6 separate regions of the Homo sapiens genome follow, and regions 1, 2, 4, 5 and 6 are each linked to region 3. The links are contacts of gene promoters, found by promoter capture Hi-C in blood cells and fetal thymus (Javierre and others, 2016). All regions are on one chromosome and are shown on one strand. The core of a region is centred on a gene start or on the middle of the fragment in contact, and the rest is flanking DNA. Distances in the headings are between cores, read along the strand shown.

What was found. Contacts are between HindIII fragments. The CHiCAGO score rates a contact against its expected background, and 5 or more counts as called.
Region 1: a fragment that was not itself captured here is called in contact with the fragment with the promoter of C11orf58 in region 3 in 8 of 17 cell types (naive CD8 T cells, total CD8 T cells, total CD4 T cells and 5 more); the score reaches 15.3 in naive CD8 T cells.
Region 2: a contact is called between a fragment that was not itself captured here and the fragment with the promoter of C11orf58 in region 3, in 1 of 17 cell types (total B cells). The highest score is 5.3, in total B cells.
Region 4: a fragment that was not itself captured here is called in contact with the fragment with the promoter of C11orf58 in region 3 in 5 of 17 cell types (non-activated CD4 T cells, total CD8 T cells, activated CD4 T cells and 2 more); the score reaches 10.4 in non-activated CD4 T cells.
Region 5: a contact is called between the fragment with the promoter of BMAL1 here and the fragment with the promoter of C11orf58 in region 3, in 4 of 17 cell types (total B cells, naive CD4 T cells, naive B cells and 1 more). The highest score is 6.9, in total B cells.
Region 6: the fragment with the promoter of FAR1 here is called in contact with the fragment with the promoter of C11orf58 in region 3 in 1 of 17 cell types (naive CD8 T cells); the score reaches 5.9 in naive CD8 T cells.

What each region holds. Positions count from the first base shown.
Region 1 is chr11:20,389,563-20,393,690 of GRCh38, forward strand. PRMT3 (protein arginine methyltransferase 3) reads left to right here. Exons shown (of 16, transcript NM_005788.4): 3 at 182-264; 4 at 2,649-2,698; 5 at 3,335-3,437. Among named protein-coding and RNA genes, the nearest start is that of PRMT3, 3.9 kb to the left of the region's middle. The HindIII fragment of the contact is 1,671 bases long and covers 768-2,438 here.
Region 2 is chr11:13,455,188-13,459,419 of GRCh38, forward strand. The region is part of intron 1 of BTBD10 (BTB domain containing 10); the gene reads right to left. Among named protein-coding and RNA genes, the nearest start is that of BTBD10, 5.9 kb to the right of the region's middle. The HindIII fragment of the contact is 7,206 bases long and covers 1-4,232 here.
Region 3 is chr11:16,736,439-16,740,618 of GRCh38, forward strand. It overlaps C11orf58 (chromosome 11 open reading frame 58), which reads left to right and starts at 2,209. Exons shown (of 5, transcript NM_014267.6): 1 at 2,209-2,403. The coding sequence starts at 2,341. It also overlaps a transcript of SOX6 not described here. RefSeq lists an enhancer at 2,083-2,712. The HindIII fragment of the contact is 4,072 bases long and covers 1,118-4,180 here.
Region 4 is chr11:20,356,739-20,361,048 of GRCh38, forward strand. No RefSeq gene overlaps it. Among named protein-coding and RNA genes, the nearest start is that of HTATIP2, 4.8 kb to the right of the region's middle. RefSeq lists an enhancer at 3,995-4,214. The HindIII fragment of the contact is 7,195 bases long and covers 1-4,310 here.
Region 5 is chr11:13,276,540-13,280,988 of GRCh38, forward strand. BMAL1 (basic helix-loop-helix ARNT like 1) reads left to right here and starts at 1,251. Exons shown (of 20, transcript NM_001297719.2): 1 at 1,251-1,384. RefSeq lists silencers at 852-1,501, 1,572-1,641, 1,922-2,261. The HindIII fragment of the contact is 3,232 bases long and covers 1-2,711 here.
Region 6 is chr11:13,666,007-13,669,958 of GRCh38, forward strand. FAR1 (fatty acyl-CoA reductase 1) reads left to right here and starts at 2,662. Exons shown (of 12, transcript NM_032228.6): 1 at 2,662-2,800. RefSeq lists silencers at 2,212-2,701, 2,812-3,091 and an enhancer at 3,172-3,221. The HindIII fragment of the contact is 7,046 bases long and covers 1-3,952 here.

The sequences.
Region 1 (4,128 bases), core at 353-2,852, 3.7 Mb after region 3:
TTCCCTTTAAAAGTGCTGGATTCCCTTCCTTTCAGATACAAGTGTGTTTGTTTTTTCTTAATTGGAAGTAAAACTAGAAACCAGCAGAGTTAAAAAAAAAAAAAAAGTGTATATGTAACATGAAATCAGTATTTAGACTTCTTAGGGGACTATTCCATGAAGCTATTGCTTGATTTTTCAGGTTATTCACATCTGCTGAAGAAACATTTTCACACTGTAAGTCTGAGCATCAGTTTAATATTGACAGCATGGTTCATAAACATGGTGAGTAGTTTTTAGAATAAAGGCAATTTAATTTGTGAAATTTGGGCAGGCATGGCAGCTCACACCTGTAATCCCAGCACTTTGGGAGGCTGAGGTGGGTGGATCACTTTAGGTCGGGAGTTCAAGACCAGCCTGGCCAACATGCTGAAACCCCACCTGTACTAAAATACAAAAGTTATCTGGGTGTGGTGACGCACACCTGTAATAGCAGCTGCTCAGAAGACTGAGGCAGGTGAATTGCTTAAACCTGGGAGGCAGAGGTGGCAGTGAGCTGAGATGGTATCACTGCACTCCAGCCTGGGCAACAGAGTGAGACTCTTCTCAAAAAAAAAAAAAATCTGTGAAATATAAGTTCAGATTTTATAGTTTTTCAGACCCTTTTCTGTACGAGTTTAATATGGCGAATCACACAGCAACATCTTGTGGAAATGGAGTTTTTTTGACAAGCGGTCCTTGAGAAAAGATGAATAAGTCACTCTTCTAGACAAGATTCACTGTATTTAAGCTTATATTAGCTTTTCAACTAAAAACAAAAACAGACTTGGCATGTGATTACATTTTTACATTTTATGTGATTACATATTAGATTTAGGGAGAGCAAGTGTAGATGTAGGACTTGAAAAAGGACGCAGGTCATTTGAAAAAAGACAATCAGCTCAAAGCATGACATGAACTTCACAGCCTACGAGACTGAGTTTTATACAAAGTTCGGTAGAGACTGGAAAAAGAGTGATGAAGTTAAGATTAATATGCAAAATACTCAGGTGATGTTTCTATTGAAACTTTTATTTAAACACACTTGCCTTACAATTAAGGCCTTCCACTTTAAATGGATGTAGAAGAGCTATACTACAATAAAATTAACTAAATAGGCCAGGTGCTGTGGCTCACGCCTGTGATTCCAACACTTTGGGAGGCCAAGGCAGGTGGATCACAAGGTCAAGAGATTGAGACCATCCTGGCTAACCCAGTGAAAACCTTTGGGAGGCCAAGGCGGATGGATCACAAGGTCAGGAGATCGAGACCATCCTGGCTAACCCAGTGAAAACCCAACTCTACTAAAAATACAAAAAATTAGTCGGGCATGGTGGCATGTGCCTGTAGTCCCAGCTACTTGGGAGGCTGAGGCAGGAGAATTACTTGAACCCGGGAGGCGGAGGTTGCAGTGAGCTAAGATCATGCCACTGCACTACAGCCTGGGTGACAGACTGAGACGCCGTCTCAAAAAAAAAAAAATAATAGGTTTTTTGGTCCCTATATTTGTTGACAACTAAGAAGGGACATTACTGAAGAATAGCAAATACTAACAGGTGTTTCAGTGTCAGATAAATACGTGATATCACATGTTTATAAATCATAAATTCAACTGCAAGTACTTTCGTAAGGCATAAATGACAGCCTCATTTTTTAATGTTTTTTGTTTTTGTTTTTTTTTTGAGACGGAGTCTCGCTCTTGTTGCCCAGGCTGGAGTGCAATGGCACGATCTCGGCTCACTGCAACCTCCGCCTCCCGGGTTCAAGTGATTCTCCTGCCTCAGCCTCCCAAGTAGCTGGGATTATAGGCATGCGCCACCACACTGGCTAATTTTGTATTTTAGGAGAGACAGGGTTTCTCCATGTTGGTCAGGCTGGTCTGGAACTCCCGACCTCAGGTGATCCGCCTGCCTTGGCCTCCCAAAGTGCTGGGGTTACAGGCATGAGCCACTGTGCCCAGCCTTAATGTTTTTAATGTTGCATTTCTAAAGTATTAGAATCATACTTAAGATAGAATTTTGTTTTGTTTTTTTTTTACTTACCGATATAGGGGGTTTGTATACTATTAAAGTTTTCTCATAACAAGAGTTTTATGACAAATAATTGGTTGGTTGGATGTATTACTGCTTTCCTTTGTTTTAAATGCTGCTTCATTTCTGGAAAGATACGAGAACCAGATAACAAGCCTTATTGGGCTTGCATCATTTAACTTCATGTAAAAGCTAGTATACACCATGTCCTGGCAAAATTATAATTTGATACACACCATAAAAATTAGGGATTTAATACTTTCAGCTCTGATATCAGTTGCCAAATACTTGGTAAAATGTGGATCTTAATTTTCCAGATTTGTATTGTTCTGACAAAGGAGGAGTAGAATTTTAGAAATCAGTTTTCCATCTTTTTAGAAATACTAGAAAAGCTTTAATTTGTCATTTATGGCTGCTTCTCAAGATATTCAGAAGTATCATTGTATTACTACTTCTAATTCTTAATAAAATTCAAAATATAAGTAGTAATTTAGAGGTCAGAATTATTTTATTGTTTAATCAGAGAAGGCTTTATAGAATAGGTCAGTTAAACAAAACTCATTATGTTAACATAGGTGAATTATCTTTTTCCCCCTTTAGGACTTGAATTTTATGGATACATTAAGCTAATAAATTTTATTAGACTTAAGGTAAGTTGACAGCTTAATTTATAATTTCGTTTAGAAATCAAAGAAATGCTACAGTGACTGTCAGTGTACTGATTATTTAAAAGAATATGAGGAACTGCATTAAATTTGGTACTCATCATATTGGGGGAATCACGGACATTAGGAGGTAGCACAGCAGAAAGCACCATGTAAATGTCTACCATAACTAACAAATATTGTTTTCACTGCATCTAAGAGATGAATCGGTGTATGTGAAAAAGTAATTCAGTGTCAAATAAAGGGAAATACTGATGGACAGGATCTGTAAAATCAGAAATAATTTCTAATGTGATTTTAAGTATTTTGGTTGCTCTTTTTTATTCTGTTTTTTTTCAGATACTTTGTTTTTTTTTTTTTTTGTCCTGTTTAAATGAATGTTTAATGACATGACAACGCTTTCCCCAAATCCAAACAGTAAAAAAAACTCTGCGTTGAAACTGCTGGTTAAGCAGTCGTCCAGCAAGTTAATGAAATGACAGGCACGTAGACTTTTTGGAGACATACTGACTTTGTGTAATGCAAACATGATTTCCTTTTTGTTTAATTTCTGTAGTTTTTACTAAGGGGATTTTGTGATTATATGTAATGAAAAAAACATGAGATTAATTTTATATCCAGAATCCTACAGTTGAGTACATGAATTCCATATACAACCCAGTGCCTTGGGAGAAAGAAGAGTATTTGAAGCCAGTATTAGAAGATGACCTTTTACTTCAATTTGGTAAGATGAACATAAGTGTATCTCCTTTAATTAACATAAGGCCGTTTGTTAACGGCAAAATGGAGGTAGAGTGTTTTAGGAAAAGACATGCTTTTTAAAATTATCTAAATGCTTCATCAGGTAGTTAGTTTCAGTAGAAAAGTTAAGTTGCTTAAAAACTAATAGTCGGCCAGGTGTGGCGGCTCACGCCTGTAATCCCAACACTTTGGGAGGCTAAAAGGGCAGATCACGAGGTCAGGAGATCCAGACCATCATGGCTAACACAGTGAAACCCCATCTCTACTAAAAATACAAAAAATTAGCCGGGCATGGTGGCGGGCTTCTGTAGTCCCATCTACTCGGGAGGTTGAGGCAGGAGAATCACTTGAACCTGGTATACAGGTGACAGAGCAAGACTCTGTCTAAAAAAACTAAAAACTCTGTGATCAAAAGATTGTCTGGTTTTGCCTTTAATTGCTTCATGTATTTTGGAGCTCTTATGTGAGGTTTATACACATTTATAATTGTTATATTTTACTGAAAAATTGGTCAGCCTTTGCAGTAATTCTTCTCTGCCCGAAAGAAGTATCCAGGTGATTTGAACATCCTGAGACAGAAGGTAGATGTAGATGTTCATCTTTCTGAATATGGTTTAGGCCTTTGAATTAGACTGTTCTAGCAAATTGTAGTTAGGAATCTTAATATTTACTGA
Region 2 (4,232 bases), core at 1,654-4,153, 3.3 Mb before region 3:
TAGGCATGAGCCACTGCGCCCAGCCCTGTTGTCCACTTAAAGGGTGATCTCTAATTCACCAAGATGTTAAGACTTCCAAAGTCAGCTCAGTCAACCCTTAATGTTCCAGAGGTGATTTGGATATAAAATCTTTGTGCTAATTGATTTTATCACTTTTATAGAATTTCTATTCAAATTTTGCTGACTTCTTAATTAACACATTAACACTTCAATAAATGAAGTGTTATTCATTTGTTTCTTTCCCATCACAAACAGCTCAATAAATGTTTGAAAATCTTTCCATATTTTAAGCATTTACAAAGTACCTACATTACATGATTAGCATTGTTAAGTAACTAGACACTGTTTAGTTTATAGGCTACCTTCTTAAAACTCAAAAGGCATATTTTTTTAATATCCTAAAGAAATAACAATGTTTTAATTTTCTACTATGACCAAAAAGTGTTGACTTCAAAACCAGAAACACCTTAGTTGAAGCAAACCATCTTGACATAATATCAATTAATACAGGCAATGCTCCTGAAGCTGATGCCTAAATCAAAGGAGATTATGGTCAACTCCTAAGAAGCAACACCCTTTAAACAAAGTCAGACAATATTTTAAACAATATTTTTTCCTTCCATGATGCTTTATGTTTTTTCATATAACCTTTATTATGCTGTTCCATTTTGACCTATTCATTATTCCCCTTACCTTCCATTCCTTTCCGATTTTTGTCTATCAGCCATCAATTCAACAGGCTAGTAAAGGCTCTATTAAATATGATTCAAGTTCTAGACTGTAGCACTCACTGCTCAGCGCGACTTTCCATTATCACAACAGTGTGATAATGGAAATGTTCTACGTCTGCACTGTCCGAAAAGTTTAAGGAATCTAAAATTTGCCCTGAGACAAAACACTTGCTCACAAAGAAACATTTTACACATCTTTGTGTCTTGGTACTATAGGTAGCATTCCACTTTAATAAAATTAAAAATGTTGTTATATTCAAAGATCTTTGAATTAAGGTTCATTTCAATAATTGAAAGTCTGTGGTGCATGAATAGACAAACCAACCAATAGAAGAGAATTAAAGGCCCAGAAACAGAGCCCTAAAACATAAAGAACTTCAATATATGATGAAGTGATAGCTCAAGTCATCGAGAAAAGACAGACACTAATAAATGGTATTGGGACAACTGAATAAACATTCAGGAAAACATGAAACTGAATTCGTACCTCATACCACATACAAGGATATACTCCAAATGAAATCAACTATCTAAATGTAAAAACTGGAATCATACAAATACTAGAAAAATTATGGGTGATTTCACTGACAACCGGGAAGGAGAGAAAGCCTTTCCTATTTGCCTACGAAAAACACCACTACTTGCAAAAAGCACAGAAAAAAATAAAGTTTTAAAAACAAGTAATTTTTTTAAAAGGGCTAATTTCATAGTATATAAAGAGTTCCTTAAAGAAGGAAAGAAAAAGACAATTTCTCTTCTCCAAAACAGACAATGCACAAAGAAATGGGCAATCCTCAGAAAAATAAAGGCAAATGGCCTTAAACATAAAAATATGTTCAACCTCACTCATAAAAGAAATGCAAATTAACACCTCCAATTTTGGCCATATACTCTGTTGGTGAAGCTGTGGAGAAGCAGTCTCAATACTGGCATACACTGCCAATGAAAAGTACAAATGAGGGTCTGGCGCAGTGACTCACGCCTATAATCCTAGCATTTTGGGAAGCTGAGGTGGACAGATCACTTGAGCCTAGGAGTTTGAGACCAGCCTGGGCAACATGGTGAAACCCTATCTCTACTAAAAGATACAAAAATTAGCCAAGCATGGTGGCACATGCCTGTAGTCCCAGCTACTTGGGAGGCTGAGGTGGGAGGATCACTTAAGCCTGAGAGGTGAAGGCTGCAGTGAGCGGTGATCATGCCACTGCACTCCAGCCTAGGTGACAGAGTGAGACCCTGTCTCAAAAAAAATTAAATAAATAAATAAATAAAATAAAAAGAAAAACACAGATTATATAACCCTGGTAGAAAGGAATTCTGTAATATCCAACAATACTACACATACACTTACTAGTCCTACTTCAAAGATGATACAACTCCACTAATATTCCATAAAATATTTGTAAATATATTCACTGTGGCATTATTTGTAATGGTAAAAGACTAAAACAATCGGAATGTGCATCAAAAGGAGTTAACTGAATAAACTACATGCATCCACACAATAGAATAACGGATTAATATCCAAAATACATCGTTAGGTTAAACAGCAACAGCAAAAAACAGGTAGGTACAGAACAAGCAGTATTCATTGTACTACCTTTTGTAACATAAAGGGTAAACTTAAAAATATGTACATATATTCAAAGACAAATACACATGTATTTATTTTTGTAAAGAAAACAACTCAAAGTATAAAAAAGACATTAATCAAAATGGTTACCTATATGGGCAGAGTAGGACTGGGGTGAAGGTAATAGGGATGTAATCAAGACTTCTGAGTTCTCTTTCGATATACTTTAGATATTTGAACCACATAATGACTTACATACTCCAAATAAATTAATAAGGGGTGTATGTAATATTCATATGTGTATGTATGTATCTGTGTACACACATATATTTCTGACTGGAAGCAATTATCACTGAGTCATGGGATTATGGTACCATTTTCTTCTTTGCCCTTTGCTAAATGTTCCCAGTTGCATGTAATACCCATTACTTTTACAGTCAGAAAGAAATTACTCCAAATAAATCTATTTTTATAGGAAATTTTTCAAACTACTCATCATAAAACAGTTTCAAAATTAACAGCCATTCAAGCTGAGTGTGGCGGTATGTGCCTATAATCCCAACTACTTGGGAGGCTGGGGTGAGAGGATCACTTGAGCCCAGAAGTTCAAGGTCAGCCTGGACAACATAATGAGACTCCATCTCAAAAAAAAAAAAAAAAAAAAAAACTGTTCCAGTCTACTGTTAAATAATATCATTCACTAGGGAAGCAAAGATGATCAAAGATGCCATACCACTTTAAAATATGGCAGTTTTTCCTTTTCTTAATATGTTGAGTTCAAGTAACACGGACAGCTGTATATATGTATATTTATAAACAATGCACATATACTATCACACCAGTATTATGTATATAGTACACACACACACGAAATGGAAATTTAAAAAGGATACAGTAAAAAATAAATAGAAGTTCTATTGTTTTCTTCATACAGCACAATGAACAAGTTTTTCATATATCCCCAAAAGCACATGCAACCCACTAGGGGGAATCACTGGAACAAACTACTCCAAATCAGGAAACTTGTGGATTTGTATTCTAGTCTCAGCTGTCTTACTGCCTGCCAATATCTTTGATCAAAATCAGTTAAGGGGCTTGATTTGCACTTTAGTTTTCTCTTCCAAAAATTGGAGTATTAATGGTTTTAAAGTTACTTTCAGTATTATGGTTTCATAATCCCACCAGTCTCTCTAATAATTATTCTCTTTTAAAAGAGAAACTCCAACAATTTGGAAAACTAAGTAAGAAACAAGAATGTCTCGCAGTTAACCATCTTACAGGAGGTTATGGTCTTCTCTAAGAAAATTCTAAATGAACAAATGAATAGCTGAAAGAAACAGATCATATCGCTTGCTTTCTTGATGTGAGAAAAATCAAATTCAAGCCTGCATTGTATAAAATAAATTGTCTGAATGAAGTAATTACCTTTGAAACAATCCAGCACTATTTGTATGCCACCCAAAAACAAGAAAATCATAACAACGCTTGTACAATTTTGTACCTAAGATTCTCTGTCAGGTATCTGAGCATTAAAATTTATTTATTTATTTATTTTTTTATTTATTTATTTTTTTTTTTTTTTTGAGACGGAGTCTCGCTCTGTCGCCCAGGCTGGAGTGCAGTGGCGGGATCTCGGCTCACTGCAAGCTCCGCCTCCCGGGTTCACGCCATTCTCCTGCCTCAGCCTCCCAAGTAGCTGGGACTACAGGCGCCCGCCACTACGCCCGGCTAATTTTTTTTGTATTTTTAGTAGAGACGGGGTTTCACCGTTTTAGCCGGGATGGTCTCGATCTCCTGACCTCGTGATCCGCCCGCCTCGGCCTCCCAAAGTGCTGGGATTACAGGCGTGAGCCACCATGCCTGGCTGGCTGATTGCTACATTCTTTAGCAAACTAGGTCTCAGTTTCAAGGATCTCAAAGTAAACCCG
Region 3 (4,180 bases), core at 959-3,458:
AACTTGAAGATTTACCATCCAGGTGCCAACAATTCTGGTGAAGAAATAAAAGACATGTTGCTAGCTCATTAAAGTTTTCTGGACTTTCACCAACTAGTAAAATTAAAATTATATAGTAACTACTATTCTTATTGACAATCCTTTCTTATTTCAGAAATCTTTTAGCAGTCTAAAGTACCTATTCAGCCATCTTATTTGTTTTGGTAATATAGCTAATAGTTCTAAATCACCATTTGTCAAACCCATTAGAGGTGAACTGTAGTCGAAACTGCAAAACTCTGTAACTTAAATGTAATTTCATTGTAACTAATAGAACCTAAGTAGAATTATGTAGTAGTGAAAATATTTTAATTCTAGCAAAAAGCAATCAACCACTTCCTAAAACAATGTTTCTTTTTTTTCTCTTGGGTTTACTCTCCTCCTCCTTTATGATTTATTCTTACCACAGAACCATTAAGATGTTCTTTGTTTGGTTATACTTATAAAATGTAACCCTGACATCTCTTTTTCTATTATAGTACTTACTATTATGCTATTTTTCTGCTTCCAAAATAAGGGAGAATTTGAATCTATGACTGCATAAATTTAAAAACTACCTTCCACTGGTCACAGTTCAGTGAGGATCTGAAATCTAGGTAAGTAATATTTGTACACAGGCAGTGAAACTAGAGCAATTGCTGAGTTCAAAAGCTAATAGCTAAGCATTGTTTCACAGACTGCTCTCAGTTCTGAAACAGCAGATATGTATTATCCATACCACTTATTATTTATTTATTTATTTATTTAGAGACCGAGTCTCGTTCTGTCACCCAGGCTGGAGTGCAGTGGCGCCATCTTGGGTCGCTGAAACCTCCGCCTCCCGGGTTCAAGCGATTCTCCTGCCTCAGCCTCCCGAGTAGCTGGGATTAGAGGCATGTGCCATCATGCCAGGCTAATTTTTGTATTTTTAGTAGAGACGTGGTTTCACCATGTTGATCAGGCTGGTCTCGAACTCCTGACCTCGTGATCCACCCGCCTCAGCCTCCCAAAATGCTGGGGATTACAGGCCTGAGCCATGGCGCCAGGCCTAATTTTTGCTTAAAAAAAAAAAAAATCACATTTGTATTCAAGGTGAGAAAGCTTCAGAATTATTAAGGACAAGGATTCTGACAGAAAGTTAAGTTCAGACCTGGTTACAAATTCAGACACCTTAATAAAGTAGGAGATAGTCTTCAGTATCTGAACAATAAATAGCTTTAAATGCAGGGCTTTTTGAGTAGAGGAGTGATCACTTGAATCTGGAGAGAGGGCGAGAAATGGGGAGGGATTGCTAACGGGCATTGGGGTTCCTTTTGGAGTGGTGAAACTTCTTGGAATCAGAGGTGACAGCTGCACACGATTGTGAATGTACTAAGTGACAGTGGATTGTACACTTTTTAAAAAATGGTTAATTTTATATGTGAATTTAACCTCAATAATTACTTTTTTTAAAAAAGAAAAAAAATAGAGGCTTTTGTGGCAGGGATGGACTTTGCTTGGTGAAGGCCCCTACTGTAACGGTGCCCAGACATCCACAGCGAGGTCAGTGAGGAGCACTCCCACCTCACACAAAGCCATATGAAAACTTAACAGATTTCCCTCAGCTAAATCCCCGTTTTCAACAACCGCCAATTAGCCAACATTTAACAACATACTGAACTCATTTCTGTATGGGAAAACAGCGAAATATTCATGAAAACATTTAGAAAGCAGCATCACCGACCACCTAGAAATCCCCTGCGCGCAATAGAGAACACCAGGGTGGAAATGGTAGAAGCCATTTTTGGTTAAGGTTTTTGTCCTGGGTGGAGGGTATTCGTGAGGATTCAGTCAGCCTCAAACATTACATTTAAACATAGGTGCCTAGCTACGATGATACATTTGCCAGTAGGGCAGCGTTGCACGGTGAAAGGCAAAAACCCCTCTAAGCCTCCTCCTGTGGCGACAAAGCTCTCGGCCAACGCTCACCGCCATACACATCCGCGGGAACGCTTCCTCCACCAGCCGAAGGCGGGGCCTCTGAGGGCACTCCCGCCACACAGCGCGAATTGAGCCTCGGGGCTTCCTGGGAATTGTAGTTTTAGTCACGGACACATCTTTTTTATTCGGGCCAGTATGCAATGAATCAGAAAACTACAACTCCCAAAGTGCCCCGGGGCGGCGAGGGGCCGCAACGGTGACGACTGTGGCAGAGAAGGCCCGGAGGGGCTCTGCGTTCTGTAGTGGCGCTGCTTGGGCCCTTGGCGGATTGTAAGCTGCTGGTTTTGCGGCTGGGAAGAGCGGCGAGAGGGTTCGGCATTTTTCGTCGGGATCCCCGCAAGGATGAGTGCTGCCAGAGAGTCTCACCCGCATGGGGTGAAGCGTTCAGCCTCCCCAGACGACGATGTAAATAATAATGGCGGAGTGGCTGAGGGTTGAGGCCTACTAAAGCCTGGAGTAGGCCGGGAAGGGTGGTTGGAGGAGGACGCGCCTGAGGTGGCCTGCAGCGGGAGAGCCCAGGGAAGAAACCAGAAGAATGAGTGGGAAATGCCTCCCTTAATCTTTATGAGGGTCAGAAGGTTTGAAGAGGCCCACACGCTGAGAGCCGGAGACCTGCGTAGGAAGGGGGATTGAGGAAGGAAATTCTGAGAGGGTCGAGGAGTGAAAGAGCTTAGTCAAGGGATTTCGTACGTGCGTTTTGGGGGGCCGATGAGAGTGCTTTCTCGGGCCTTTGTACTCAGTATAGAGACGGCAAGACTCTCCCTGTTTTGGGTTCTAAATGTTCCCGTGACAATGTCGAAATGTTCGTGCACGTTTGTACAGATTTTTCCTGCCTGGATGATTTTTACAATGTGCTGTTGAGAGTTAACTTTAGCTGCACTAGTAAGGGTAAACCGAGAACAGTATTGAGCCGAAAATTGTGCCACGGGTGTAATTTGGTACTGGCTCTGGTGGTGAGGTCTAAGACGTTGAGACCTAGAAGCCCATTTTGATGTCGGATATTAATACCTCGTTCTTCTTACCTCGTCTCCCCATCAAATGCCGTTCCCTTCCTCAGCCCTCACCTCATAGGTTTTAATAGCAAACGGTTTATCCCTTAAAGTAACCCGTTAAATATTTACTGCACTGCCGGGTGTTGGGAATTCGGAGAGAAATATGATGCTTATTTTAGGCCTTTTTGTATATTTGTCCTAGCTCCTAGCCCAGTGTCATGGAAACGGTAGGTAACCAGTAAACGTAAAACTAGGTCCTTCATACAATGGATAAGTGTCTTGGCAACGTTGATGGGGAAAATTGTTGGAGAGAGCGCGGAGAGGTCATCTTTAAGGAAGATGAAGGGATATCTAGGTTTTTTTTCGGTTTTGTTTAAAGTACTGTCAATTTCTGAATACATAGAGCTTTAAATTTTTCGATAGTGCATTTCAACGCTCTTCATAAAATTTTAAAAGCCCACTGAATACTACTTTGTAGCAAATGAGATAATGTTAAGACCTACCCCTCTGATGGGAGGTGGGGCGAGGACCGGAATATTAAGGATCTTTAAAGGAATCGACTTCAGCTCTGCAGAAAGATTAGCAATCAGTAAAGATTTGGGGATGAATGGGCACCTAGAGAAGTTTATTCTTGCTCTCTGTTATTTCTGCTACTGGATTTTAGATCTTGTTAATATGGTAATTCAGGTTTTGTCAGGAATTGATCCACACTTTTGAGTAACCTGGCTGCCACTTAAAAAGCTGTTACATTGTTTTCCTCCTGATCTTTAAATGTGACTTGATTGCTAGGATATCAGACACCTGTTTGGAAATATCTTTTAGCGTGACAGAAAACTCCAGGTGATATGAAATTTAACAAAGTTAAAGGGATTAAGTCATTAAGTTTACAGCTTCGGAAGAGGTCGGTTTAAACTAGACGACCTTGAAGACCTTTCCCAATCATATAAGCGTATCTTTAAGTACCTGGGTTTTGTTTTTGTTTTGAGACAGGTGAGACAGGGTCTCTGTCGCCCAGGCTGGAGTGCAGTGGCACGATCGATCAGTGCTCCCTGCAGCCTCCACCTCCCTGGCTCAGGTGATCCTCCTGCTTCAACCCCCTCTTCCCCCACCACCACTACAGTAGCTCGGACTACAGGTGTGCACCATTACACCCGACTAATTTTTTGTATTTTTAGTAGAGACCAGATTTT
Region 4 (4,310 bases), core at 992-3,491, 3.6 Mb after region 3:
TCACCTCTTTTTGACTTTCAGGGACCATGACATCTGTGGCTTCCCTGCCAATCCAGCCCTGGTCTTGCATAAATCCTCTGCCCATCTGGTTGTTCCTTCACTGTCTTCTCCCTGGGACCCTCAGGTCTCTTTGTGTGCCTTCCCTCATGTTCCCTCCTCATCAGAAAGAAGACATGCCCTCTCAACAGAGTCCCCCTTCAGAAGGGAACTGGCTTTTGAGGTGGAGTGATAGTGGGGGAGGAGATGAGATCTCTAGGGACATGGTGGTGTAGTAGGCAGGGTGCTCTTTGCCAGTCAGTTCCTTGACATGTTTTCTAATTTTTTTTACCAGCCTCAACCCTTCCTTTTGTTGCCTGCATTAAAGAGTGTGTCTAAGATCCACTACTTGCACAAGTCTTGCTACATTCTTGGGGGTCATCCATAAAGTATGTTTGACTAGTTCACCTCTTACTCTCCTAGGTCTCATGCATAAGGTATGGTGAAATCTACCCCATGAAAACATTTTTCTTGAGCACCTACTAAGTGCCAAACACTGCCCCAAAGCTGGGGCTGTAGCAGTGAGATAGATGTGGTGGCTGACCTCACAGAGCAGAGTCTTCCTGTTTTGATAAATATTGTGCTTATCTAGTTGGACTTCACTGAGGTCACACAGCTACTAAGTGGATGGCCAGGATTCAAATCTACTTCCGTCTGACTGCAAAGTTGCTTTCTACCACATCATGTGTATCAGTTTGGGTCCTGGCAAGAAACAGAGAACATGTTCCAACAGAGTAACTGAGGGAGAATTTAGTGAAAGATTATTTACAAGGAAGCAGGAAGGGTTAAAGAAAACCCAACAAGGAATGGTGCTGTGTCTCAGTGCTAGCAATAGCGGGGAGCCATTTCTACTCCTAAGTCTAAAAGGTTGAGGCAAGGAGGTGGTTACTGGAACCTGGAGAGAGTGCCTGCAGCTGTCAGGGAGGCTATCAGACAGGAGTGAGGCTCTTGGGTCGAGGAATAGCAATCTCATAGCAGGAATTCAGGGGAATAAAGCCCCTAACCCCATACTCCTCCTCTGCTTCAATTTCCTACTGGTGACTCTTATCACCAAGGTAGGTGATAGGTCAAGGAGGACAAGGTAGACTGGGTGATGCAGGCCTTAGAGGTCAGCTGTGGAGTCACAGAAAAGGATACAGAGAGTGGAAAGTGGATCTGGAGGGGCAAATGAAAAATGTGCCTGTAATCCCAGTACTTGGGAGGCTGACACAGATAATTACTCGAGCTCAGGAGTTCAAGACCAGCCTGGGCAACATGACAAAACCCTGTTTCTGGAGAAAAAAAAAAAAAAGATGCGTGTCTGTAGTCTCAGCCACACGGGAGGCTGTGGGAGCTTGAACCCGGGAGGCAGAGGTTGCAATGAGCTGAGATCATGCCACTGCCCTACAGCCTGGGCGACAGAGCAAGATCATATCTCACAAAAGAAAGAAAAAAGAAAAATGCCCAACATACCAGTGTTTCCCAAACTTTACTCCTTCAGATACTATTTTCATGAGTTTACCATATCCTATGTTTACAATACACTCAGCTGTACTTAATATTTTATGAAAACGTCCTCTTTTTTTTTAAACTTTGTTAAATGTACTACTAGTAACAGGTACTAATAAATGTATTAATGGTAATTAAGGTAATATTTCACTACCTTGAATAGAAGAAAACCATAAAAAATAAATCTAATAAAATCAAGTTTGCTAAATTTTAAAACCTAAAATTTAACAATAATTATAAATGATAATGTATCTTATGATGTCCTTCACAGGCTGGTCCCTACCTGCCTCTCTAGTCTCCCCTCCCCTGCCCTGCCCCTGCCCCATGCTTCCATCTCTCCATTTCAAGCATATTGGTTTTTGGCCCTTCAAAACCAGCCATACTTCTACCTACCACAGTGCTTTTACATAGGTTATTCCTTTGGTATATATCAGTAAGAGGACATACCCATGAGTGCTAGGGAACCTGAAGAATTTAACAAATACAGTGCTATCAGCTAAAAACAAGAAGAATTATGCTTTCCTGAAAACATTCTAGAATTACACAGGTATTACTCATGATTTTGTCATTGATCTGGATATCCAGGTTCTTGTCCTGGCACCAAAGTTGAATCCCAAGATCTTAGATGATATATTTAATAAACGTGTGACTCAGTTTCTCCATCTATAAAAACAATTAGCTATCAAGAACACGATAGATACACTAAATCAACTACCTAAACTGTTGAATGCAATTCATGGTTGTATTTGTTATGTGAGAGCAGAAAATTACAATACTTTCTTTCAGACACCTACCTTTACCAAATCCAACCTCTTATGTGCCCAACCAGATATCTTAGTCATGCTACAGTTATTTAAAGCTCTCATTTGTTAAAAAAAAAAAAAAATTATCTAGCATTCATATTTACAAATAAATGAGATAAATGGGGAACAAGTATAGCCACTTTAGATGCTATTTAACATCCGTTCTGTTTTCTTTCTATAATAGTGACCTCTACTTTCCTTGGGGACCTTACTTCCTCCCCTACTCCCAGACATGTGGGAAGAGATAGCCCCACCCGGCTTCATTCCCAGAGCCACAGTGACAATCATAAGGTTTAATCAGAACTAAGGAGATACAGCTGGGGACTTCTGCTTACAGTTATGCTCTTTCTACTGGACTTGAATCTAGGGGGATGTACTTGATAGCTTCAATCATCCATTCTCCTCATTTATCTACCTTATTGTATGCCCTGAAGAAAACTGGTCTGCACAATATAAGTTCCCTCTAGCTTCTGGTTGAATTTAGACAATGAAGAGTATGAGCAAGAGCACAGCCTTTGGGTCATCTTGCAGGGTCTGAGAGTAAGGCCGACGTGAAGGGAAATAGAGCCATGGTTGGCAGAGGGACTGGGTCCTGGCCCCATTGGCTGACTGGCTGATTCTGGTCATGCCAAGACTATTATATACACTGATTCTTTAGTTGCATGAGCCAGGACATTTCCTTTTTTTTTTTCCTCAAAACATTTTGAGTTTGGGGCTTCAAACACGTGAAACAGAGTCTTAATGAAGGTATAACTAAAAATATAGCTCTGAAGTGAAGATGCATGGATCCCTGATCCTGAGGACTCTAAATCTGACCTAAATACAGTTCCAGTCTCCCTAAGGCCCCATCCTACAGCAGATCCTGTTTTGAGATTTCTCTGAGATTCTGTCTCTCTTATACATGATTTATAGCCTTACAATATTACAATATTCACCATCTTTACTCGCCATGAGTCAGTTTGTTCCTTGGAGCAAAGCGAATGTAATGAAACAGTTCCCATCTTACAGATAGGGAAATGGAGGCCAAGATATATGAAGAGACTTCATCAAAGGCAAACCTGAACGTGGCAGGCAGGTCTCTGGCCAAGGATCTTTCCATGCCAGCTCCGTTTCTTTATGTCCCCTTTCCCTCCTTCCCTATGCTTTCCCCTTCCCCTTTGCCCTGAATTTTTGTGGTCCGGTTGCTCTAGGAGCCTAGGTCTTGTCACATTATCTCAGCACTTGGATGACATGGTTCCAGCTGTCAGAGAAGGAAAGGCATGGACTTGTTTTTCTCTGAGTTTCCTTCTATTTCTGTATGCTCATTTGGCCTTCAGCATGTGCCACCCTGTGAAAGTTTGGGGGATGTTTTATAATGTTGCTTAACTTTATTTAGCTTCCCAAGTATTTATGACTTGCCTTCAAGATGAGAGTGAATTTAGCTGGTGTCCCTGATTCACCTTGGAAAAATCTATTGTGCCTAGCACAGTATCTGGCTTGCATTAGATAATCAGTAAATATCCATTGACAAGATTGACTAAAAGAATCTTACATTAGGCAAAATGCTGGCTAAGCTGCTGTAACAAAATTACAGTGGCTCCAACATGACAGAAGTTGATTTTTCTCTCACTCCCCAGAGGTGTGCCGGCAGTCCAGGGTGGGCAGGCGGCTCTGTTCTATGAAGTCATCCAAGGGCTCCTTGCCCTGCTATCCTCTAGAGAGTGTCTTTCTCCTCATGGTCAGAGCTGGTTTACCAGTACATTCACATTCTGGCCTAAGCAAAGGGGGAAAGGGAAAGTGAAGGGAAAGGGAAAGTGAAAGGAAAGAAGGTAACTTCCTTATAAAGATGTGATTCAAATGTGCACATATTACCTCTGCTTGCTTCTCGTTGGCTAAATCACTGTCACGTGCTCGTGCTAGCTTGCAAGTGTGTTGTGGGAAGTCAGGGACCCCGAATGGAGGGACTGCCTGGAGCTCCGGCAGAGGAACATAAATTGTGAAGAT
Region 5 (4,449 bases), core at 1-2,500, 3.5 Mb before region 3:
CCAGTCTGGGTAACAGAATTAGGCCAATTTATTTAATTCCATTTGTTCATGTATCCAGCCAACAGATATTTATGGTGCACTTGTTGGGTGCCAGCCCCGCCCCCACCACTCCACCCTACCCCAGCAGGCGCTAAAGGAGAGCTGACATGATGGATAACGAAAAAGAAGACGCTGTCCTTCTATTCAGGGAGTTTAACATCTGGAAGAGCCGGGAGTTCTTTGTGCTAAAGGCCCTCTACAAAGTGCCTGAGATGCAAAAATAAGTCACTTTCTCTGTCCTCTCAGCAACCGAGTCGCATGTCGTTATCAAATTTTTATTTTCTGTAACTGTTTCCTTCCGTCTTGCTCCGTAGACAGCTTTTTGCAGCAGAGAGCGCTGCCGCGGGGCTGGTGTCTACTCTTCAGTAAGTGGTCAAAACCTGGCTACTGGAAGGAAATGCAATGGAATCGCTCCGCGCTCGAGTATTCTCTTTGGAACTACGGGAATGACAGCTCCAGTGGGACACTTGGAGGTCATGATGAACGCAAAGAACGTGAGAACACTTGCAGTCCTCGGGGTGGAAATGCCTTCTAGAAATACTAAGTATCCGTTCTCTCGTTGAGACTTTGGCAAACCAGGGATTTTAGGAAGGGTCTGGCACTCAACGTTCCTAAAATTGGTTTCCTAGATGGAGCCGGAGGGAGAGAGGGAGTCAGGAACTGCTGCTTTTCGTCGGAATGCCCGGAGGGGAGAAGAAGAAGGAGGAGGGGTGAGGGCGGGCGGCCAAACGCCAGCCGGCAGGGGACCCAGAGAAGAGGGACATCCCGGGCGACCCCGAGGAGCGCGGCTTGGGCACCGCAGTGGCCGCGGCTAGTGGGAGACCTGAGGGGAAAGGGAGAGGGCAGGGGCGAGGAACCCAGGGAGCGCGCGCGGATTGGTCCTCTCCTCGGGGCGTGCGCTCCTGTGCGCCAAATGATTGGTGGCAGGAAAGTAGCAGGTAAACCGGCTCCCGCCGCCTCGCCATTGGTCAGCGGCCTCTCTAGCCGCCACACAACTGGCCAGCGGGCTGCCGAGCCGCGCGCGGATTGGCTGGGGGCGGCCGCCGGGACCGGCTCCCTTCGGGCGTTCGGATTGGCTGGCGGGAAGAGGCAGGTATCCGGGCGCTGCGGCTCCTCCATTGGTGGGCGGGGAAGGGGGGTTGGGCACAGCGATTGGTGGGCGGGGGGCCGGGCCTGGGCCGGCGGGGAGCGGATTGGTCGGAAAGTAGGTTAGTGGTGCGACATTTAGGGAAGGCAGAAAGTAGGTCAGGGACGGAGGTGCCTGTTTACCCGCGCCGGACTCACCGCCGCCGCCGCCGCGGGATCCGAGTGCGGGCGCGGGCGCGGGCGCTCCCGGCGAGCCACGGTGAGTGTCAGGCCGGCGGCGGCCAGCGACGCGATCCCGCGCACCCCGTCGGGGGCCGTTAGCACCCTCGCGGGCGCTGCGCCCCTGCCGCCGCCCCGGGGGCAACCCGGCCGCCGAAGAACCCTGCCCGACGTGCCCGCTGCCGGCCTTAAAGGGCCCGTGACCGCTCCCTGCCCCCACCCGGGCCGTGGGGAGGCTGCGCCCCTTAAAGGCGCCGCGCCCGTCCGCCCCCATCCTCCTCGCGGGGGCTGCCGCTGCGGGCTAGGGCAGGCAGAGGTGCTGCAGGAGCCCTTAAAGGGGCCGGGAAAGTGTTCGCTGGAGTACCCACCGCCCTTCCGCGGGCATCGCTACCTGGCGGGGGGAGGGGGCAGCTAGCTGCCTCTTAAAGGGATAGCTCTGCCCTTGGGGGCAGTGACTCGGCCGAAGAGGACTCCTAGATGTGTCCCCGGGAGCTTCGGGGATCCCCGAGGGGACCATGCCTGGTGGCTGCCCCTCAAGGGCGTTGGGCGAACGGTGCCGCGTCTGCCCTTCCTCCCCGCTTCACTTCCCTTTCGGGAGCCCGCGAGGCTGGGTGGGGGCGGGGAGGGCGTCTCCGTCGGGCTTGGGGAGTCCAAGTCCGCCCGCCCCTTCGGCCCTGTAGCCAGGGCTGGCGCTGCACCCGGGAATCCCCGGCCGGCACGGGGCCGACCCCAGCCTGCGAACTTTCGTGGGGCCTGTGCCGTCCAGGTCCTGGGCGGCCCTCAAGGATGCCCCGTGGGTCTGCGGGCAGGTGCGCGTCGGCCTGGGGATGTCGCCCGGAGCCCGGGTGCGGGCCGGCCTTGGAGTCCCAGAGCTCCGCGGAGGGCGCAGCGAGCCTGGCTCCAGCTCCGGGTTTGACAGATGTCAGGGAAGAAAAGGTTCCCGCTCGGCTATTGCCGGGCGTTGACATCCCAGAGAGCTTCCCGTTTGCTTGGAAGAAGACGAGGAAGGTAGAGGTGAACGTCGACCTTGTGGGGCGCATGTTAGCCTCCCCGAGGGGTCGCGAGAGCCGGCAGCGGGGTGAGCTCAGGTGCCCGCCGGCAGGAGCTGGGGAGGGAAGGGGAGTGCTGGACACCGGCGCCTGCTGTCAAGTTCTCGCCGGCCGGTGAGAGACCCGCTGCCGCCGCGCACCCCGCACCTCCTGACCCCTCTCCCCTCTCCGCCTCGGCCCCTTCCCGGTCACCTAGCGTTGTTTTGGCGCTTTGGCGCTTGCGGTCTCTTCCTTCTTCCACCGCTACTCCTCAGCGAGGAATTATTAGCCAAGTTTTCTCACCCAGCTTCCAAAAATCAGATTCCGTATTTGTGAACAAGCTTTTCTTGACACTACCCGTATACCCGTATTTCCAGCATCGTCGTTTTATTAAACATCCATAAAAGCTGCCCCTTAGATGCATTCATTTCCCACGACACCTGCTTGCTTGTCATTTGTCCTTCTGACATCTGCTGTTGTTCACCCCTTTAATCTATTATTAAATGACAACTATTATTTTAATTCTTCTGGTCTCATTGATATCCGGATCTGTGAATTTGGGTTGGTGGAGTTTTTAATTAATGTACCCGTTGAATCATGAGCTTAAAATAATCATTGCTGCTCCTGAGCAGTTTTGAATAATATCATGCTCTCTCTGCTTGCAAGACTTAAAAAAATTCGCTGGTGTTATATTTGATTTCCATATCAATGGAATTCCCAAATATTTTTGAAAATACAAAATTCAGTCTTTCAGTCCATGTTTTGTTACTCAGATCATTTTACTGATAAGTCTTTAACGCAGCTTATAGAACATATTTAGAAGGTTTGGAAATTTCCTGGACAGGATTTGAAATTGCCTGTATCATCTGAAGCTGGTTCTGTAGAAGCATTTTGGTTTTGATTGTAGATGCAGCCAGTGAATGATAACAATAAGTTAAAACTGTAGTTAAATTTGTTCTTTATTCAACCCTCTGAAGAACGAACAGATCTGGTAGAAAAGCACTAACCTGGGAGTTAGGAGCTGGACATCCTGGTTCTAGTTTAGGCTTGGGCTCTCATGGCCGTTCCAGTCGGGGCAAGTTATTAAAGATTTCTAGGTTGTGTTTGCCTCTGATGGAAAGTAAGACGGTTGAACTAGGTGATCTCAAAGGTTCCTCTCTTTTGAAGTTCTGTAAGTCTCTAAATATTTAATACATTTGAATTCAGGTTGGTATTTACCTCCTGGCACCTCCAGAATATCTGAGCTGAAGCCCTATTTTCATAAGAAAGTTAAGCAGATCAACAGATGGTGTTTTGAAGAATCCATTTCAAATGATTTATAAAATGATGACTACTTACGAGTTTGTCTGCTATTTGCAGAAGAGGTTTGCATGCCACAGGGCAGGAAAAGGAAGTGGCCATGTTTTCAGATTTATCCCTTCACACCAACAATCTCTGTGGAATTTATATGCTAAAAGATGGAGAAGCACCATAGAAAGATTTGGCTGTATTAACAAAACTGCATATGAAAAGGTAAAAACTAGATAGTTAATATCTCTCTTTGGTGTAAGGGTTATAATGTATCTGAGCTTTCTTTGTGATTTCATCATCAACTCTCACTGTGGTAGGAAAATCAATATTAAATAAACAGTTTCAGCCCCGTGATTACATGCAGTGATTTTAGGAAGCATCATGATAACTAAAGTAGGTACTTGCAGGGAAGTAAAATATCCTTTCTAGACCTTGAGGTTTCGTTGGGAGCTAGGGACACAGGCATGTTATCCTTCTCCACAGTCTTTTTTCATTGTCACCTTATCACAAGACTCAGATTTATCCCAAATACCCACCTTGTCTTTTCTTCTCCCTCTCATGAAATAAGACCTGCTCTGACTCAACCCCCTCAGCATCTCTTACTTCCCACCCAAAATGTCCTGTCTCTATCCCCATCGTCCCCTCATCTCCTCCCAATTCAGAGAAAGCAAGTGGACCTCTCCTCTGTTCCTTTTCTTGGCCTCTCACCATGGGCAAGTGCCTGGGCTCTGGTGGCAGAAGAATCCATGGCTCAGGTTTGGGCTTTGTGGTCTTGGATGTGTGCTTG
Region 6 (3,952 bases), core at 1,412-3,911, 3.1 Mb before region 3:
GTTTCTAAAAATGTTATGAAATTCTGAGAGTCATAATAGCCACGTTATGGCCAATATGCCAACCACGTTAAGGGTAGCATATTCGTTTTGGTCTTTATTCCTATATATTTTCTCAATGATATATAGTATCTCCCTTTAGGCTAGAAACTATAATGGTACATTTTTGGCTTGGTGTAATTTACCTTCATTTAAAAGATATTGTTTCTATAGCATGGATCAAAAAGATGTAGAGTTGTTTCATGTTTGAATAAAATTATAATGCAGTTGATACCAATATATGGCGCCCAATTTTCAGGGATCTTGCTGAATAAAGATGGGAAAGGCAGATGAATGAATGATTGATGTCATTACATTTTTCTAGTTTAAACTCTGGTGCAAAATCTTTCACTGCCTTTTATTACTCACTTTTTGTAGATTTATTAATTCTCTGAATTCATTTAAGAATGATAGTATATTATGGAAGATTCGAGTCATACAACATGCCTTACCCATGAAATTGTACCATCTTGGAGAGTGATCCATTGTTTTTTAAAGTCTTCCTCCAGAAAGCACTCTGTCCATTTGTGGGGGTCTGCCGGAGGCACACATTTCATACACATTGACTTGAATCAAATGAGATCCCTTTGTGCTCTCAAGTGTACGGCTATTTTTGAGAATCATTTATTAAGTGATTACTTAATAATTACATCATATTTTCCTCAGAACTAAGCATTACTTTGCTTTTGTACTTATATCAATTTTTAAAATTAAGACATATGCACAAACAACAAAAAGTTTATGAAGTATTTTCTGGAAATAGTGTCTATTTCCTATAGTGATATTACCCTATCAGTATACTGATAAACCTTAGCAGTGGTTAACTTAGCTACACATGTTCTAACATGCTCCTGAATCCCCCATGCTGGGTTACATCCTCTTTCTAGGTATTCCCTCATCCTGTATTACACTGGCATTGTTTATGTCTGTCTCTCCATTAAACCCTATGTTCTGTGGAATACTGTCATATCCAAGTTTATATGCCTAGTGTAGTGACAAGCACTTTAAATAAAGGCATTTACCTGATTTAAACAACTTAATGACTAAATTAATAAATATGAATACTGTAATCTTTGTTTTGTTGCTTGTGTTCTTTTACAGATTAGAATTTGGTCCATAGTTCTTACGTTTGTTTTGGGAGAATATTTTGACCCACTTCTAAGAAGTGTTTCACCTGATCCTGGCTATTTATGACTATGGCTATTGGACTGGATGGGTTCCAGGCATACACTGTCTTGCCTAAAGTAGCGGAATGCGACATCCCTGAGGGTAAGCAAGTGTGTTAGCTTTGTGTTCTGTGCCCTCCTCCAGAAATGACAGTACTTGCTGCAAGACTGTGAGCTCATCGAGGCAGAAGCCATGGCATTCAAATTAGTTTCCTGAGCCAGAACTTAACATCTGCCACAAAGTAGGCAGTTCAGTGAGCTTTTGTAGTTTCCAACTGGATGCAGCACTATGACTGCTTTTAGCTACTAACAGGGCCAGGCACTGAAACAAGCTCTAAATCCCCACAGAAAAATCACTCTGAGCCATCCATCCCTAAATACCAACCTGTGCATGCTATTCACCGTGCCAAGAGCGTTCACTCATTTTTGCTTCTCACAAATCTTTTTTTTTCTTCCTATGGCTTGCATGTTTTGAATGACAGCTAAATCCTAATGCGGACTGTTTATACAATGGAGTCCCACGGAGCCCAAAGATTGTGGTAATATTATTACAGAATTCTCATGATCCTTTTATTATTTTTTAAAAATGAGCCGTATGAATGTGGTAATACTATTAAGTGTCCGGCTCGATGAATTCCTCCATGTGTACACAGCCCGGAACGACCACCAGGATCAAGACGCAATGTTTCCAGCTTTCCATAGGTTCCCTCGTGCCCCACCCCTCAGAAGTAAACGTTATTCTAACTCCTATCACTACCGGTAAGTTTTGTAGGGAATTATTTTGGAGGAAGTGGAAGGTGGAATGAATGGGCCCACAGTCCCCTGGGACTGGGCGAGACCCGTGGAGGCTCCAGGGGTCCGTAGAGCTCTTCGCTCTCACCGACCCGGGCCACACCCGCCAAGCTGGTAGTTCTCCGAACGGATCCCTCACGCCCAGCAATGGCCGGAGGGCCCCCGGGCCCCACCATAATAGCGCTAAGCACGCCACAATGGCAGCCCCGCTGTCTCCCGCGCGGGCCTCGCTGCGTGCTCCCAACCTTGGGAGTTGGCGCCCCTCCCGCGCGACGGACAGCCGGGCGTGGCCCTGGGCGCGACCCGACAGGACGCCAGCAGCCGGCGGGGGCGCTCCAGGACTCGAGATGTGGGGCGCGGGCCCATTGGCTGAGCATTCCCCCGCGAGCCTCCCGGCCGCAGGGCCCACCTCCCGGCCCTCTCTCCGCGCCCCCATTGGCCGTTCGCGTTCCGCGGGCGTCCGCTCCCGCCCCACTCCCGCCCGGAGGGAAACCGGGTTGGGGGTGAGAGGCTAAAGCAGGGAGGAGGATGACTGGTCCTGCGGATAAGGGTGTGCGCGAGAGCCAATCAAAAGCGGATGTCGAAAAGAGGCGCCGCTCCAGCCAGTCACGTCGCGAGGTGCGGTCGGGGCCGGCTGACGCGACTGCGGGCCTCAGCCAATGGGCGTGCCACTGCCCGTCCGCTCTTCAGCAGCCGGTCGCGGGCGGTGGAAAAGCGAGTGAAGAGAGCGCGACGGCGGCGGCGGCGGCGGCGCAGCTATTGCTGGACGGCCAGTGGGAGAGCGAGGCCTGAGCCTCTGCGTCTAGGTGAGAAGGGGGTGCGCCAGCGGGAGCGGCCGGGCTGCGGGCTCCTCCTCGCCTGGCTCGGGAAGTGGTTGCGGGAGCTCGGGCTGCAGGCCTGGCCGAGGCGGGGGCGCCGACCAGCCGTCCCGCCCCCGCCCCCGCCCGGGTACGCCCAGAAGTGAGGGCGCCCGCCTCACCCCGGGTGGTCTCTGCCCCTCTTTGCCCCGCCGCCGCCCTTCACAGGGCCGGGACCGCGTGGGGGACGTACGGTGGGGCCTGGTTTGCAGCCGCGGAGCCCGGGGAGCCGCCTGGGGTGGGAGGCCGCTAGAGGTGGCGAAGGTGGGGCGGGGTGGTTAGCCGAGCAGCGGGCTCCGCGTGCTCGCGGGAGGGTAGCGGCAAAGGGAGGCCTAGTGATTGCAGGATTCCGGGTCTGGGGAGGAAGAAAGTGGTGGGAAATAGGTGATGCTCAGAAAAGGGTGCTGAGGGAGAAGGCGCGGGGCCGGGGAGTGTGGTTGGCCTATTAGAAGTAAGGATTGATAGGGCCTGGGTGGAGATCAGCTGGGAGTGAAGGGGGGACGGGCTTGGGTTTTGAAGGTGAAGGTCTCTGGAGAACTGGGGACACGTGGATCTGGAGTAAGAGGCACCTACTGAAACCGGAAGGTGGCTGAGAAGGTTTTATGTGAGGTGTGGACGGGAGGCTATTGGACTAGAAGGCATTAGTTGGTCTGTTAGGACAAAGTATACAAGCAGCAAACGCGGTAGATTTATGTGTGGTAGGTGAAGGCTGTGAATCTTTTATGAGTAGTTGAGCAAGAACAGTTGTCTGATTCTGCGGTGTCGGAGAGTGGAGGGTCTCAGGTAGTGTCTTGGTCAGGTTTGAAGGTTAATTTACTGCTAGTGGAGGGCCAAATACTCAAAAGAGTTTTTAATTCTCACTACTGGGGCTGATCCTCCTCCTACACTCCACCCCTCCTGCCATCCCTGTGACAGTTCATCTCGTTTTGCCTCAGCAGCACAAGAACTCACTCCCTCCGAAGTAATGGCATACATATTGTTTGCTTTTGACTAGATGGCAGTCAGGAATCCCTTAATTCTTTATGTTAAAAAAAAAAGTGTTGGTTTAAAGACAACATCAGAAGATACTCTCAGAAAATCTGCCCTCCAGGGGAGTTTCTC